Linked DNA regions of Homo sapiens: all the other regions are linked to region 1. The links are contacts of gene promoters, found by promoter capture Hi-C in blood cells and fetal thymus (Javierre and others, 2016). All regions are on one chromosome and are shown on one strand. The core of a region is centred on a gene start or on the middle of the fragment in contact, and the rest is flanking DNA. Distances in the headings are between cores, read along the strand shown. Region 1 holds the start of VSTM2L (V-set and transmembrane domain containing 2 like). Region 2 overlaps RPRD1B (regulation of nuclear pre-mRNA domain containing 1B). Region 3 overlaps RPRD1B (regulation of nuclear pre-mRNA domain containing 1B).

What was found. The method cuts DNA at HindIII sites, captures the fragments that hold promoters and counts their contacts. A CHiCAGO score of 5 or more calls a contact.
Region 2: a contact is called between a fragment that was not itself captured here and the fragment with the promoter of VSTM2L in region 1, in 1 of 17 cell types (endothelial precursors). The highest score is 5.4, in endothelial precursors.
Region 3: a contact is called between a fragment that was not itself captured here and the fragment with the promoter of VSTM2L in region 1, in 1 of 17 cell types (endothelial precursors). The highest score is 5.4, in endothelial precursors.

Annotation. Positions count from the first base shown.
Region 1 is chr20:37,900,718-37,905,040 of GRCh38, forward strand. VSTM2L (V-set and transmembrane domain containing 2 like) reads left to right here and starts at 2,410. Exons shown (of 4, transcript NM_080607.3): 1 at 2,410-2,754. The coding sequence starts at 2,634. All of the region lies in intron 2 of LOC124904896 (a long non-coding RNA gene), which reads right to left. RefSeq lists an enhancer at 1,710-2,673. The HindIII fragment of the contact is 14,867 bases long and covers 1-4,323 here.
Region 2 is chr20:38,069,462-38,073,784 of GRCh38, forward strand. The region is part of intron 6 of RPRD1B (regulation of nuclear pre-mRNA domain containing 1B); the gene reads left to right. Among named protein-coding and RNA genes, the nearest start is that of RPRD1B, 38 kb to the left of the region's middle. RefSeq lists an enhancer at 3,904-4,013. The HindIII fragment of the contact is 3,124 bases long and covers 1,028-4,151 here.
Region 3 is chr20:38,036,837-38,041,159 of GRCh38, forward strand. RPRD1B (regulation of nuclear pre-mRNA domain containing 1B) reads left to right here. Exons shown (of 7, transcript NM_021215.4): 2 at 3,599-3,728. It overlaps LOC124904898 (a long non-coding RNA gene), which reads left to right. Exons shown (of 2, transcript XR_007067579.1): 2 at 623-1,271. Among named protein-coding and RNA genes, the nearest start is that of RPRD1B, 5.3 kb to the left of the region's middle. The HindIII fragment of the contact is 2,555 bases long and covers 1,059-3,613 here.

The sequences.
Region 1 (4,323 bases), core at 1,160-3,659:
TGGGATTTCACCATGTTGGTCAGGCTGGTCTCGAACTCCTGACCTCGTGATATGCCCACCTCGGCCTCTCAAAGTGCTGGCATTACAGGCGTGAGCCACCACACCTGGCCGATCACGAGCATTTTCAAAGGCATACAATCCCTGGATGTCTGTCCTTGAAGGAACCTTGACCTTGTTCCAGGCTTCAAAGAGAAAAGATTTCTGAAGGTCAGCCGGTGGGCTAGGGGCACAGCAGCAATGTGCTGCCATCCCGCCAGACCCCCTTCCTCTGCAGGCCTGAGCAATCTCTTGTTTACTCCTCTTTAATCTCCTCTCCCTCCCTGTCCCCTTGCCTGTGTCTGCTCCCTCCAATCTGTGGTTTAAGAGGAGAAAGCCCGGGTTTGAGTCCCAGTTCTGTCACCACAGTCTCCTGGTGAGGCCTCAGGCTGGGGTTGAAGGAGTCCTGGGTTTTAGTCTGGCTAACATGGTGGCTGCTATGTGATCTGGAGGATTCTCAGTTTCCATATCTTTATGATGGAAGCAGTAGTTCATTTCGCTGGGAGCGGGGTTCAGGGTAGTTAATGAATGAGAAAACACGTGCATAGAGTCCAAGACGCCTGGCCAGCCCAGGATAACCTAAACACCACCTCTGTGTGGGAAGAAAGTGAGAAGTGAGAGAATCAGGCAAACACGGCCCCTTCCTCCAAGGCATGTGGTCCAGAAGGTTCGGGGGGTGGGGGAAGCGGTCGACGCTTGGGACCTGTCCTCGGTACTGAAGGGAGCGCGGGGGCTGTGGACGGTGCTAGAACACAGTGCTTGTAAGTGCGGGACATCGTGGAGGAGGTGTCCTTAGTTTGGAAGGAGCTGGATTGTTGCTGGCTACCACGGGCCCCATCCGGTGTGCTACCCCCCCCCCATAATACTGGAAGGGGGGCGCTAAGACAGAGGGAAGACGGCGAGGGGCTATGTTCCTTGGTCTCTAACCTTGTTCTCAAACTTGGGCGCTGTACACACGGCTGGACGCGGGATCCACCTGTGTTCTGGAGTGGGGAGTGGGCTGTCGGAGGGGTTGACCCTGTTCGACGGGGACGGGGAAGAAAGTCTGAGGGTCTGTCCACGGTGTGAACCCTAGCATCAAAGGGCCAGTTGAGACGCTGTCCACGGTGCCCAAAGGATGGGCCCGGGTGGGGCGGGGGGCGGGGGGCGGGGGGGGGGCTGGCGCTGTCCTCCTCCGTGGTGCTGAAACCGGGAGGACCAGGCTGTGTGAGCAGGGAGGCCTGGGGAAGGGCAAGGGATGAGAGCAGGAGGGACCCCGCCCAGGAGTCAGGGGCCTCGCCCGACTCGCCGTGGGACCTCAGAGAAGCTAATTACCTGATTTCAGGCGCTTCCTTATCTTTTAAATGGGACCACAGTTCCGCCCTCCTGTCTGTCCCATCAGCCCCAGTAACACGGCTTGGGAAGGAACTGGAGGACTTTGTTGGATTCTTGCTCTTGGGAATGGGAATGGTGCCCTATCCCCCTCCCCTGCCACACTCACACACACATACACCCACGCATACGCGCGCGCACACGCACACGCACACACACACTCATGCACACACACACCATCAAGGCTCATTGGTCTAGGGAAGGAGCCTACAGTCCAGAAGGGGGCGATCCCATCCACCACATAAGGTCCAGTATCTTCAAGAGCCAGGAGCCGCAACAACTAACTGGCCTGTCTCTCTCCCATTACAAAGACTCGAAAACTGAGTCCCAGAAAGGGGAACACCGACAATAATAACTACTGAGCTCCTACCACGTAGGCAGCATTATGCTAAGCGCTTTGCATGCACGATTTCGCAAATCCTCACCAGGACCCCCGCAGACAGCTATTACCCCTATTTCTCAGATGAAGACTTCGAGGTTCAGAGAGGGGTAGACACCCGGACGCGATCACACAGCGAGCCGAGGTCGGCGGCAGAGCTATCACCAGGTCCCCTGGGTCTCAGCCCAGGCTCCCACCCTACCTCGCCCTCACCCCCAGCCCCACTGGCCCCTGACCCCGGCCCCGCCCTGCCGGTAAAGTTAGGAGCCTCTGAGTGCGCTGGCCTGGCGGCGGGTGCCCTGGCTTTTCTCCCTCTCCCCGCTGGACGGCATTTCTGTGGCTGAAGCCCGTTGGGTCGTGCTTTGCGGGAACCGCGTCCCTGGGGTGGCTCTCTCCGCCCCATCCCGGCCCCGCCTCCGCACTCGGGCGGGGGAAAGTTGCGGGTACCGCTTTAAAAATCCCAGCCTGGGCAAAACTTTGATGATAAATCAAGCGGCAGATCCCTCCGCCGCCTGCTCCGAGCGGGAGGAGGGAGGGGAGGAGGGAGGGGAGGAGGGAGGCGGGAGGAGGGAGGAGGGTGCGGCGGCGGCGCGGCGTGGCCTTCCGCGGAAGGGAAGAGTCCCGCAGTCGGAGGCGGCCGGCTGGGCGTGCGCTCGCTCCCCGAAGCCGGGGCTGGGCCGGAGCCGGGCGAGGGCTGGGAGCTGGGCCGGGTCCGGGGACAGCGGGCGAGGGGCAGCTGCCGGAGCCGGGCAGCCAGGCCGCTCAGGGCAGGGGACAGCTGGCGCCGGTTCTGCGGTCTCCGGGGCCCAGATGTGAGGCGGCGGCGCCCCCGGCCCGAGAGCGCACGATGGGGGCCCCGCTCGCCGTAGCGCTGGGCGCCCTCCACTACCTGGCACTTTTCCTGCAACTCGGCGGCGCCACGCGGCCCGCCGGCCACGCGCCCTGGGACAACCACGTCTCCGGCCACGGTGAGTTCGGTCGCCGCCCCCGCGGACTTCCCCACCAAACCCCAACCCGGGCCGCGCCACTCCAACTTGGCCGCCCCGGGGCTCGAACCGGCGCCAGTCGTGGCGGGCATCCCGGGGCGCCCCCTGCCGGCGCGGTGGACCCGCCCTGGCACCCTGGCCCTGCAGAGAAGGGGGCACCCGGGGCGCACCCCCGAACCTCCTCCCCACACACTCGCGCGGATACGCACACCTGCATGGCCACACCGATATGCACAGCCGCGGACACACTCAGAGCCACAGTCGCTGCTTTCTCACACTCACAACTCCTACCCTGCACATCTCCACACACCTCAGGTCCCCCTCCTCACTGCAAGCCTTTACACTTATGCCCACTACACACGCACATCAGGCACTGCGCCGGTGGGCTCACTCTGCCAGCTGGCGCACACGCTTCGCCACAACTCTTGCCTGCCCACCTGCAGACACACTGGTGCGCGCGCGCGCACACACACACAGGCACACACATACACACACATGAACACAATTTGCTCACCCACTCCTCTCTGCCCATCTGCCTTTACTCTTCTGGGTTTAACCGCACAGAGGCCCTTGTCCTCTTCCTCTCCACACCCAGCCCTATACCACTGGAAAGGTCCTTGGGGGCAGAAGACCTTGTTTCTTGAGAACTGGTCGCCTGGGGCTGCAGCCTCCCAGTTGGGCGGGTGGCACCTGGTGGAAGCCCCTCAGAGCCACCGGAGTAGTTGGGGTTGCTGCTTGCAGCCAGAGGCATGGGAGTGGGAGTGGAAGTGGAATGCCGGGTGCTTTTGTCTGCCTCTGGGGATGGGCAGGAAGCCGTGCCATCCTTCCATAGGGTACCCCCATCCTCATCCTCGGCCCTAGAGGACTGAAATGTGGGAAATCTCAACTCCAGCCGCTGTGGAAGCCGGGGAGCAGACAAGCATTCCCAGCACTGGCTGGCTGAGTGTCAGAAGCTCCTGCTAGCCCCGAAGGAGCCCAAGTTGGCAGCAGAGTTGGACTGTATGAGCCCGGCAGCTGTGGGGGCTCCCCCTGACCCCTGTGAGCCTGGCTCTGGGATGGAGGCTCGAGCATAGATGAAACCAAAGGAGACCTTTCTTCCATGCAGCCCTTCACTAGACAGGCTGACAGCCTTGTTGGGGAGGCTGCAGCCCCAGTGCTGGGCACTGTGGGCCCAGGGCTGTGGGGAGGTTTGCACAAAGGCCAGATAATTGGATGATTTATTCTGATGGGAGTGAGTGGGGGTAAGGCAGGGTAGATAATCAGGGAAGGTTTTGCTGGGGTATGACACATGAGTGGGATTGCTCCAGTGGAGAGGGGGGCTTCGAAGCCATCCTCAGGGTCTCTGCTTTTTGGGAACCATGACTCCCCGCCCCCTTCTGCCTCACCATGTTTGGTAGTAACTGCTGTGTGCATCATTTACATACCCTTCATGCCCCTCACCTCATTTCTACCGACCTGGCTAGAGCGGTGGTAAATAAGGAAAGGGTTCTTTTGATCCTCAACTTACAGATAGGGAAACCAAGGCTCAGAGAGGTGAAGGAAGTTGCCCAA
Region 2 (4,323 bases), core at 1,340-3,839, 170 kb after region 1:
TGTTTATAAATGGGGAGCAGTTAGACTGGACCAGACAGGTATCTGAAGAAAGACAAAGTCAGATGTGGGAAGGAGGTGCTGCAGACCACCAGTGGGAGATTAAGGTCTGTGCTCTTTAAGAAGCTACGTATTCATTCAGGGAGTCAGCAAAGCCTGTGCCAGCCAGATGTACAAAGATGGGCACGATGCACTTCTCCCCTCAAAGGGCTTATGCTCTAGTCAGGGGGAAATAGCAGCAAACAAGGGGTTAGGGTAGAATTCAAGATAGGTTGTCAGTAAGGAAAATATTCTCACTTGTGTCTACCTTGAAATAGACCAAGAAAAAAATGAAGATGCTAATAATAATTTGATCAGATGCTTATTAAAATTGTGAGAGTTATCAAATCATGGACAGTTTCTGAAACTGTAATGCCTTCAGCAGGTCTCCCAAAGTTTGCTAGACTGTATACTCTTTGAGTGCTCTCACAGTGCCAGGAACATATTTGTTCCTCAGTAAATACTTGTTCTGTGAAATCCATCACTTGATGTAACCTTTTTCTATAGAGAAAAGGGTTTTTTTTTAAGGTTGCATTAAAAGTGGCTTAACAAATCTGATTTAATGATTGGTTGTAAAGAATATGTTAGTACGGAAAGGTAACCATTTTTAGAAGTTTCTGTAGGTTTTCTCCTTTGTACTACTTTTCTTTTTTCCTTTAAGTAGAATTATGCTTTATTCTGAGATAATCATCTTTTTTTGTTTGTTTGTTTTTGACTTTTGCTTCAGGGTGTCATGATTGACTTTGGCCTATGATGTTGGCCCTTAAACACCAGGCAAGGGTGGAAGGAATGCTGCTGAAAATCTGTGGGTAATGTTTTTGTCATGAACATGAGAAAACCTAGAAATGGAGAAGGCACGTGGAAGGAAGCACAAATGGCAGCCCAAAGAGGAGGTTAGAGAATGTGGAGGGTATAGAAGAAAGCCCATTCAGAAAGGCAAAGGCCAAAGATACCAGAAAAGCCTTCCAGCTTCACTTCCAGAGCAAAGAGAAGCTTTGTTTGTGGTTGACAGAGGTGACTACATTACTCCCAGATGTCTGCTCAAAGCTCATAAGACATAGCGTGAGTGGGTTGGATAGGGTTCCTGTCTTGTCAGCGTGAATAAAGCATGATACAGACATGTTCTGTTAGCATGATCAGTGCATGTGGAAGAGTGTGTGTGTGAGAAAGAAACCTATTTGTACAAGTATTAAGGAAAGAAAAAAGGTCAGGAACCTGCAGTTTTCCCTTCTTAACTGTGATTTTTTTTTTTTTTTTTTTGAGACAGACTCTTGCTCTGTTGCCCAGGGCTAGAGTGCAGTAGAGCAATCTGAGCTCACTGCCTCCCGGGTTCAAGCGATTCTCGTGCCTCAGCCTCCCGAGTAGCTGGGACTACAGGCGCATGCCACCACACCCAGCTAATTTTTGTATTTTTAGTAGAGATGGGGTTTTGCCATGTTGGGCAGGCTGGTCTCGAACTCCTGATCTCAGGTGATCCACCTGCCTTGGCCTCCCAAAGTGTTGGAATTACAGGCATGCGCCTCCATGCCTGGCCTTAACTGTGAATTTTATTCAGATCATGGTGTCTGACTGTCAGCGATCTAGAACTGAAAGCAGATAGTCCTGTGTTGACCCACATGCCACATGGTGCACACACACAAAGATGATATGCCACACAGGGAAGAGCTCTTGAGAAATTTGTTCCAAGCTGCAGATTTATTGTTTTAGTTGAGGTGAAATTCATATAACGTAAATTAACCATGCACTTCAAAGTGCACACATTTTGGTGGCATTTAGTACGTTCACAGTATTGTATCAAGTTCCAAAACATAATTGTGTCTGGCTTCTTTCGGCACGATGTTTTCAAGATTCATCCCATGTTGTAGCATATATCAGTACTTCATCTCTTTTATGGTAGAACACTAATCTGTTGTATGGATGTGACACAGTTTATAACCTGTCTATGGACATTTGAGTTGTTGCCACCTTTTGGCTCTTATGAATAGTGTTGCTATAAACAGTCATGTGGAGGTTTTTGTGTGGCCATATCTTTTCATTTCTCTTGGTTATGTATAAATCTAGGAGTGGAATTGCTGGGTCATATGGTAATTCTATGTAACATTTTGAGGAACCATCAGACTGTTTTCCACAGCAGCTACATCATTTTACATCCCCACTAGCAATGTGCGTGGGTTCCAGTTTCTCCACATCCTCATCAACATTTGTTATTGTCTCTTTATTTTCGACAACCTACATGTGCAGGTTTATCTCATTGTGATTTTGATTTGCATTTTGCTAATTACTAACGATACTGATCATCTTTCAGTATGCTTGTCGGCTGTTTATCTTTGGAGAAATGTGTGTTCAATTCCTTTGCCCATTTTCAAATTGGGTTATTTGCTTTTTTTGAGTTGTAAAAGTTCTTTATATATTGTGGATAATATACCTTTATCACATAAATGATTTGCAACTATTTTCTCCTATAAGTTGTCTTTTCACTTTCTAGGTAATATCCTTTGATGTGCAAAAGTTTTTTATTTTTATGAGTTCCAATTTATCTATTTTTGTGGTTGTTGCTCATGCTTTTGGTGTCACATGTAATAATCTGTTGCCAATCCCAGGTCATGACAATTTTTTTCTGTGTTTTCTTCTAGAAGTTTTATAATTTTATGTCTTAAATTTACGTTCTTAATCTGTTTTGAGTTAGTTTTTGTATGTGGTGTGATGTAGGGGGGGACCAACTTCATTCTTTTGCCTGTAGATATCCATTTGTCCCAGCACCATTTGTTGAAGAGACTACTCTTTTCCTCCACCTGAATGCCCAGCACCCTTGTCAAAAATCAATTGGCCACAGATGTATTGGTTTATTTCTGGATTCTCAATTCTATTCCATTAATGTATATGTCTATCCTATGCTCATACCACACTATCTCCATCACTGTAGTTTTGTAGTAAGTTTTAAAATCAGTAAGTATGAGTCCTCAGAGTTCTTTTTCAGTATTGTTTTGGCTATTTAGGATCGCTTGCAATTCCCTATGAATTTAACAATCACCTTTTCCATTTCTGCAAAAAAGGTAATTGAAGTTTTACTAGGGAATGCATTGAGTCTGCGGGTCACTTTGGGGAGTATTGCGATTTTAGCAGTCTTAAGTGTTTCAGCTCATGAACAGGGGATGTCTTCACATTTATTTAAGTCTTCAATTTCTGCTGCAGAATTTTAAAAAGCACTCTAGGAGAGTGTCATTTACTGATGCATTTGATATTATAAAGGCCCTGTCTAGGTTTTGGGACCACAGATGGAGGGCAGTGGTATCACCTTTCAATAATGTTAACCCCCACCTCTAGAAGATATGAGTATTTTGTGTATGGACTCAATGGAGTCACCAGGGCACAGTCACAACAGCAGCTTTACAAAGTAAAGTGACACATAGAGGCCTGGATATCTAAGTAAAGTGATTAGCAGGATTATTGAGCTGGACAGAACCTTAGAGATCATATAATCAGACTTCTGAATTGGTGAAGAAACCTAGAGAGAGAGGTAGCTGCAGACCAGCATAGAGTCCAAGGCAGACATCTGGTAACTTCATCAGATTTGTACTTTTGTTTTGATTTCAGAATTTTGATTCTGCAACATCAACAGCAGGAAGACATCTTACACAGAATAGTAGCCAAAGTTTAATCATTTAAACAGTTCCCAAGAATCTTGTTGTAGAGAAATGACATTTTATGTGGGGTCATAAAATGATTGCATGAAAGCATTCTAAGTGTGAAAGAACCTACTCTGCCACCAAGGTTCTAAGTACCTGCCTCGCTGTACCCCTGCTCACGCTCTTGCTCTGATAGGAGGGGAGAAATTGGCTCATGAACTTAAAGCTGCTGGTGTTTCTCCTCGCTTGGCACCTCCCCCTTGGCTGTAATGACTACTCAGGAGTAGAGCCTCTGACTTCAGACAACACAGCTGGGAAGGGGGAAATGGTTCAGAATCCAACATTGCCTTATGACTCTTCATATTTCTGTTTGATTGTGGTTATAACAACTTGAGAAATTCTTTGGCTACAGTTGAAGGGGTGCTCAACCAAAATGATGGCAGATTGTTGTTTTTGGCAGCACCTCCCTGCAGGGTGCAGATGGTTAGAAGCTTTTGTTTCAATATTAGGCCAGGCAGTAGGGGGAGATAGAGAGCTCCTTTTTTGTCAACTTTGGAGTAAATTCGTCTTTCCTATGATGATCAAAGCCAGTATCTCAGTGTCCTATCATGGTAAGGACAGATGGGAGCCGGTGATCTAATTGTCATTTTAGGTAAGAGCC
Region 3 (4,323 bases), core at 1,086-3,585, 140 kb after region 1:
AATTGAAAATTTAGTTTCCAGTTTTTACCAGCTGCAATTCAGGTGTTCCAATAGCCACACGTGGCTAGTGGCTAACTTACTGGACAGTGCAGAGTTAAAAAAAGATGCTCTTCCAAGCATCAATACCTAGCTTCCGAATATCCAGGCTTATTTCATGAACTGAAAATGCCCCCACACTGAAAGAAAAGGATTCTGTGCCCTAATGTTCAGATTGATTAGCCCTGTAGGTTCTACCTAGGGTGAAGTCATTTTCCGTAGCTGAGATGCTCACAGACTGTCTCTGAGTTGCCTTCAAAATATATGAGATTTATAAAAATTAACTTTTTTTCTTGCTTAAATACTTCTATTCCTGATGTGTTGTCTTTCCATTTTCTAGGAATAATTTTTAATTTATCCCATTTGAGCTCTGTTCTAAGTAGAACGTCTCCCCTTCTTTATGGACTAGTTTTGGTGTAAAGTGCTCCTAAATGAATGTTTTTAATGGTGTTTTGTATCTTGGCCTGAATGTAGGTAATGGGCTTTTATTGCAGAATTACTTTAAGACTTTCTGTAGATGTCAAAACCAGCCAAACAAGTGAAAAGTTTTGATTAACCAGTTGTTTAAATTTTACTCAACAACTAGTTTGACCAGTTTGGAATGGACATGGGTAGTGAGTGAAAGGACCTATTTCTGTCGTATAGGAAGGACATCTGAACAAGTGAGTTGTCCCCCAGGATTGGGATGGAGGGGTGTGCATGTTGTGTGTATTGTGACTGTGTGTGCTCAAGAGCTCTAGGGTTTTGTCATATCACCTTGACACACATGGTGCTTATGTTGACTGTTGAGGATGTTGAATATGGAGGGATACAGTTTATCCTAAATAAATCCCCATTGTTAAGTTCTGGGGTGATGAAAATTAATTGGCATTGTAAACAGTGAAAACCTTGGGTCTCAAGCCCCTTAGATACCTTGTTTGTCTACTGAGAAGTATATATCAGGTCTTGAATGTCCACACTGACATTTTACAATATGGATTCTAGGTTTTTTTTTTTTCAACATAAAGTGTATGGAATTTTAAAGCTTCACTTAATGAAATTTGCTTTGTTGAAGTTCTGTTTTGCTTTCGAATCTGCTAACTTGCATGGGATTATAGGTGTAGTAGTTTCACTTACATCAACTTTGCAGAGCAAGGTTTGCTTTAACAAAAAAGCACGTTTTGCCATAATCATACCTTTGTAGCAACAGTAGATATTGTAACTACTGACACTTTTGTTCTGCTTTTGAATAATAATTAGAAAGTTGAAGAAAGCTCCAGGTTCCTAGTATTCTTATCAGTTGGCCATCTAAACTAGGTTATTACCAGAAGGTTAAGACAATTCAGGGTATCCATATTTAATTTTATGAGCATTTAAGACATCAGTTTCATCAGTTTAAACTGTAATGTGCTATTAAAATCATGTTTTTAACTTGGGTTACTCTCCTGTAGCTACATTTTTTTTTTTTTTTTTGAGACGGAGTCTCTTACTCTGTCACCCAGGTGGGAGTGCAGTTGGCGCGATCTCGGCTCACTGCAACCTCCGCCTCCCAGGTTCAAGTGATTCGCCTGCCTCAGCCTCCCAAGTAGCTGGGTTTACAGGCGCCTGGCACCACGCCCGGCTGATTTTTTTTGTTTTGTTTTTTTTTTTTTTTTTTTTTTTTGAGACAGAGTCTTGCTCTGTCACCCAGACTGGAGTGCAGTGGTGTGATCTCGGCTCACTGCAAGCTCCGCCTCCTGGGCTCACCCCATTGTCCTGCCTCAGCCTCCTGAGTAGCTGGGACTACAGGCGCCCGCCACCACGCCTGGCTAATTTTTTGTATTTTTAGTAGAGACAAGGTTTCACCATGTTAGCCAGGATGGCCTTGATCTCGTGACCTCAGGTGATCCACCTGCCTTGGCCTCCCGGAGTGCTGGGATTACAGGCGTGAGCCACTGTGCCCAGCCTCCTGTAGCTACATTTTAAAATGTCAGATCTTATGCCTGCTATGTCAGACATATCAATGCTTTGTACATTTCAAAAGAAACAACTGGTTTCAGAGAGAAATAGAGTTACTCAGGTGTGTTAAGGTTGATAAAGAGCTTGTGTTTTTCAGGTACTTTAGCATTGGAGAAAACTTTGTGTTTTGAAACATCTAATTATGTTCTTATTTATTTCTTTTAAAAGAAAATTGGAACCAAAAATTGTAGGGATGTAACTTTATAGTTGAGAAATTATGTGCATAGAAGCCAGGGAATTCAGTAATGTTCCCCAAAGCAACTGTAACTCAGACATATTGCACGAGGTTTTTATGGTTTAATATATGATACCATATAGAGTAATAGGGAATAACCACATTTCATATAAATAAGAGAGAATTATGGTTTTTGTGAAAGCCCTAATTTTGCATATCTAGATTTCACACGTGTGTAAATTTTCAATAAGAGTGTAGTGTTAATGTATACTTGTATTTGAGCTAATATCTATTGGTGCACCTAGAGATTCTTCTATATTATTGATTATGGTTATTGGAGTATCAGAGAAATTCTCAGTTTAGGAGCAAAATTACAAGAAACCTTTTTTTTTTTTTTGAGACGGAGTTTTGCTCTTGTTGCCCAGGCTGGAGTGCAACAGCATGATCTAGGCTCACCACAACCTCTACCTCCCGGATTCAAGCGATTCTCCCACCTCAGCCTCCTGAGTAACTGGGATTACAGGCATGTGCCACCACGCCAGGCAAATTTTGTATTTTTAGTAGAGACGGGGTTTCTCCACGTTGGTCAGGCTGGTCTCAAACTCCCGACCTCAGGTGATCCGTCCATCTCGGCCTCCAAAAGTGCTGGGATGACAGGCATGAGCCACCACGCTCGGCGAAACCATTTTAAAATTGAAACCTAACTCAGTCTTTTTTTTTTTTTTTTGAGACAGAGTCTTGCTCTATTGCCCAAGCTGGAGTACAGTAGTGCAATCTCGGCTCACTGCAACCTCCACCTCCTGGGTTCAAGCGATTCTCCTGCCTCAGCCTCCTGAGTAGCTGGGACTACAGGTGCCCACCATCACACCCGGCTAATTTTTGTATCTTTAGTAGAGGTAGGGTTTCACCATGTTGGCCAGGCTGGTCTCAAACTCCTGACCTCAAATGATCCACCCACCTCGTCCTCCCAGAGTGCTGAGATTACAGGCATGAGCCACTGCGTCCGGCCAACTCAGTCTTTCATTCTGAAATATTTGATAATTAAAAGTGAGTTAGAAGTTGCTCATTTTTGCAGTAGAATAAATAAAAGCCCTAGTTTCAACATTAACACTGACTGCTTATCCTTTAGGAATTCTCTTTGGATTATCTTAATTTTTACTATCAATTAATTACCCTGGTTTAAACAACACAGCAATGAAGATGGCCCATTCTTTTTCTTTTTCTTTTTTTTTTTTCCGAAATGGTATTCCCAAACCTATTCCTTAGGTGGTCTTTTTAAACATATCTACTTGACCCCCCAGGTAGATAATACTTGTCTTAATGTTTTTTTAGGAGCAGCCCAGGGCAAAAGAATTGTGAATTGAGAATTTCTTTGGTGTAAGTTAAATTCTTTTCTTTTCTTTTTTTCAGCCAAATCAAATAGAAAGCTTACTTTTCTGTATTTAGCGAATGATGTCATCCAAAACAGTAAAAGGAAAGGACCTGAATTCACTAGAGAATTTGAATCTGTCCTTGTGGATGCTTTTTCTCATGTTGCCAGGTATGTTGTCTGTTTTTTGGATTTGTTTTTAAATTCATTGCCTTTCCCACCTTTTTGTTCTTTCCTTTTCTGTGATAGCCTTTGTAAATTGACAACTTCCTACTTTACAGAGAGTTGTGGAGGCCGAATTGTGGTTTTATGTTTTGTTGAGCCCTCAAGAACTATCGAGACATGTAAACATTCTGATACATTTGAGAGATTCAGCCTAGCATTATCTTTCTTCTAGATATATTCATTTTCATTTTTTGAATTTATTTCTTGGTTATGGTATTTTCCTTGGTTTGGTTGAGTTGTCTCATCAGCTTATGATCAAAAAACAAAGCTAACTAGTAAGGGAACCTTTTAGTAACATAACTTAATAGCAAGAAATTAATTGCCAAATGCCTTCCTTTTTATTTCCTTCTGGATTTCTAGATGTCTAGTTTACTAAAAATAGTAGGCATTACTGTAACTGCAATAATAGTAATTATTAGTGTAGAAAGTAGGTGTTTGCTCTGGCTATATTGTATTAAGCCTGGTGCTGTTGTGTTTTGTGGCAGAGAGGAGTGGCACTCATACAACTAATACCATAGAAAGCATACATTGGATTAAAAGT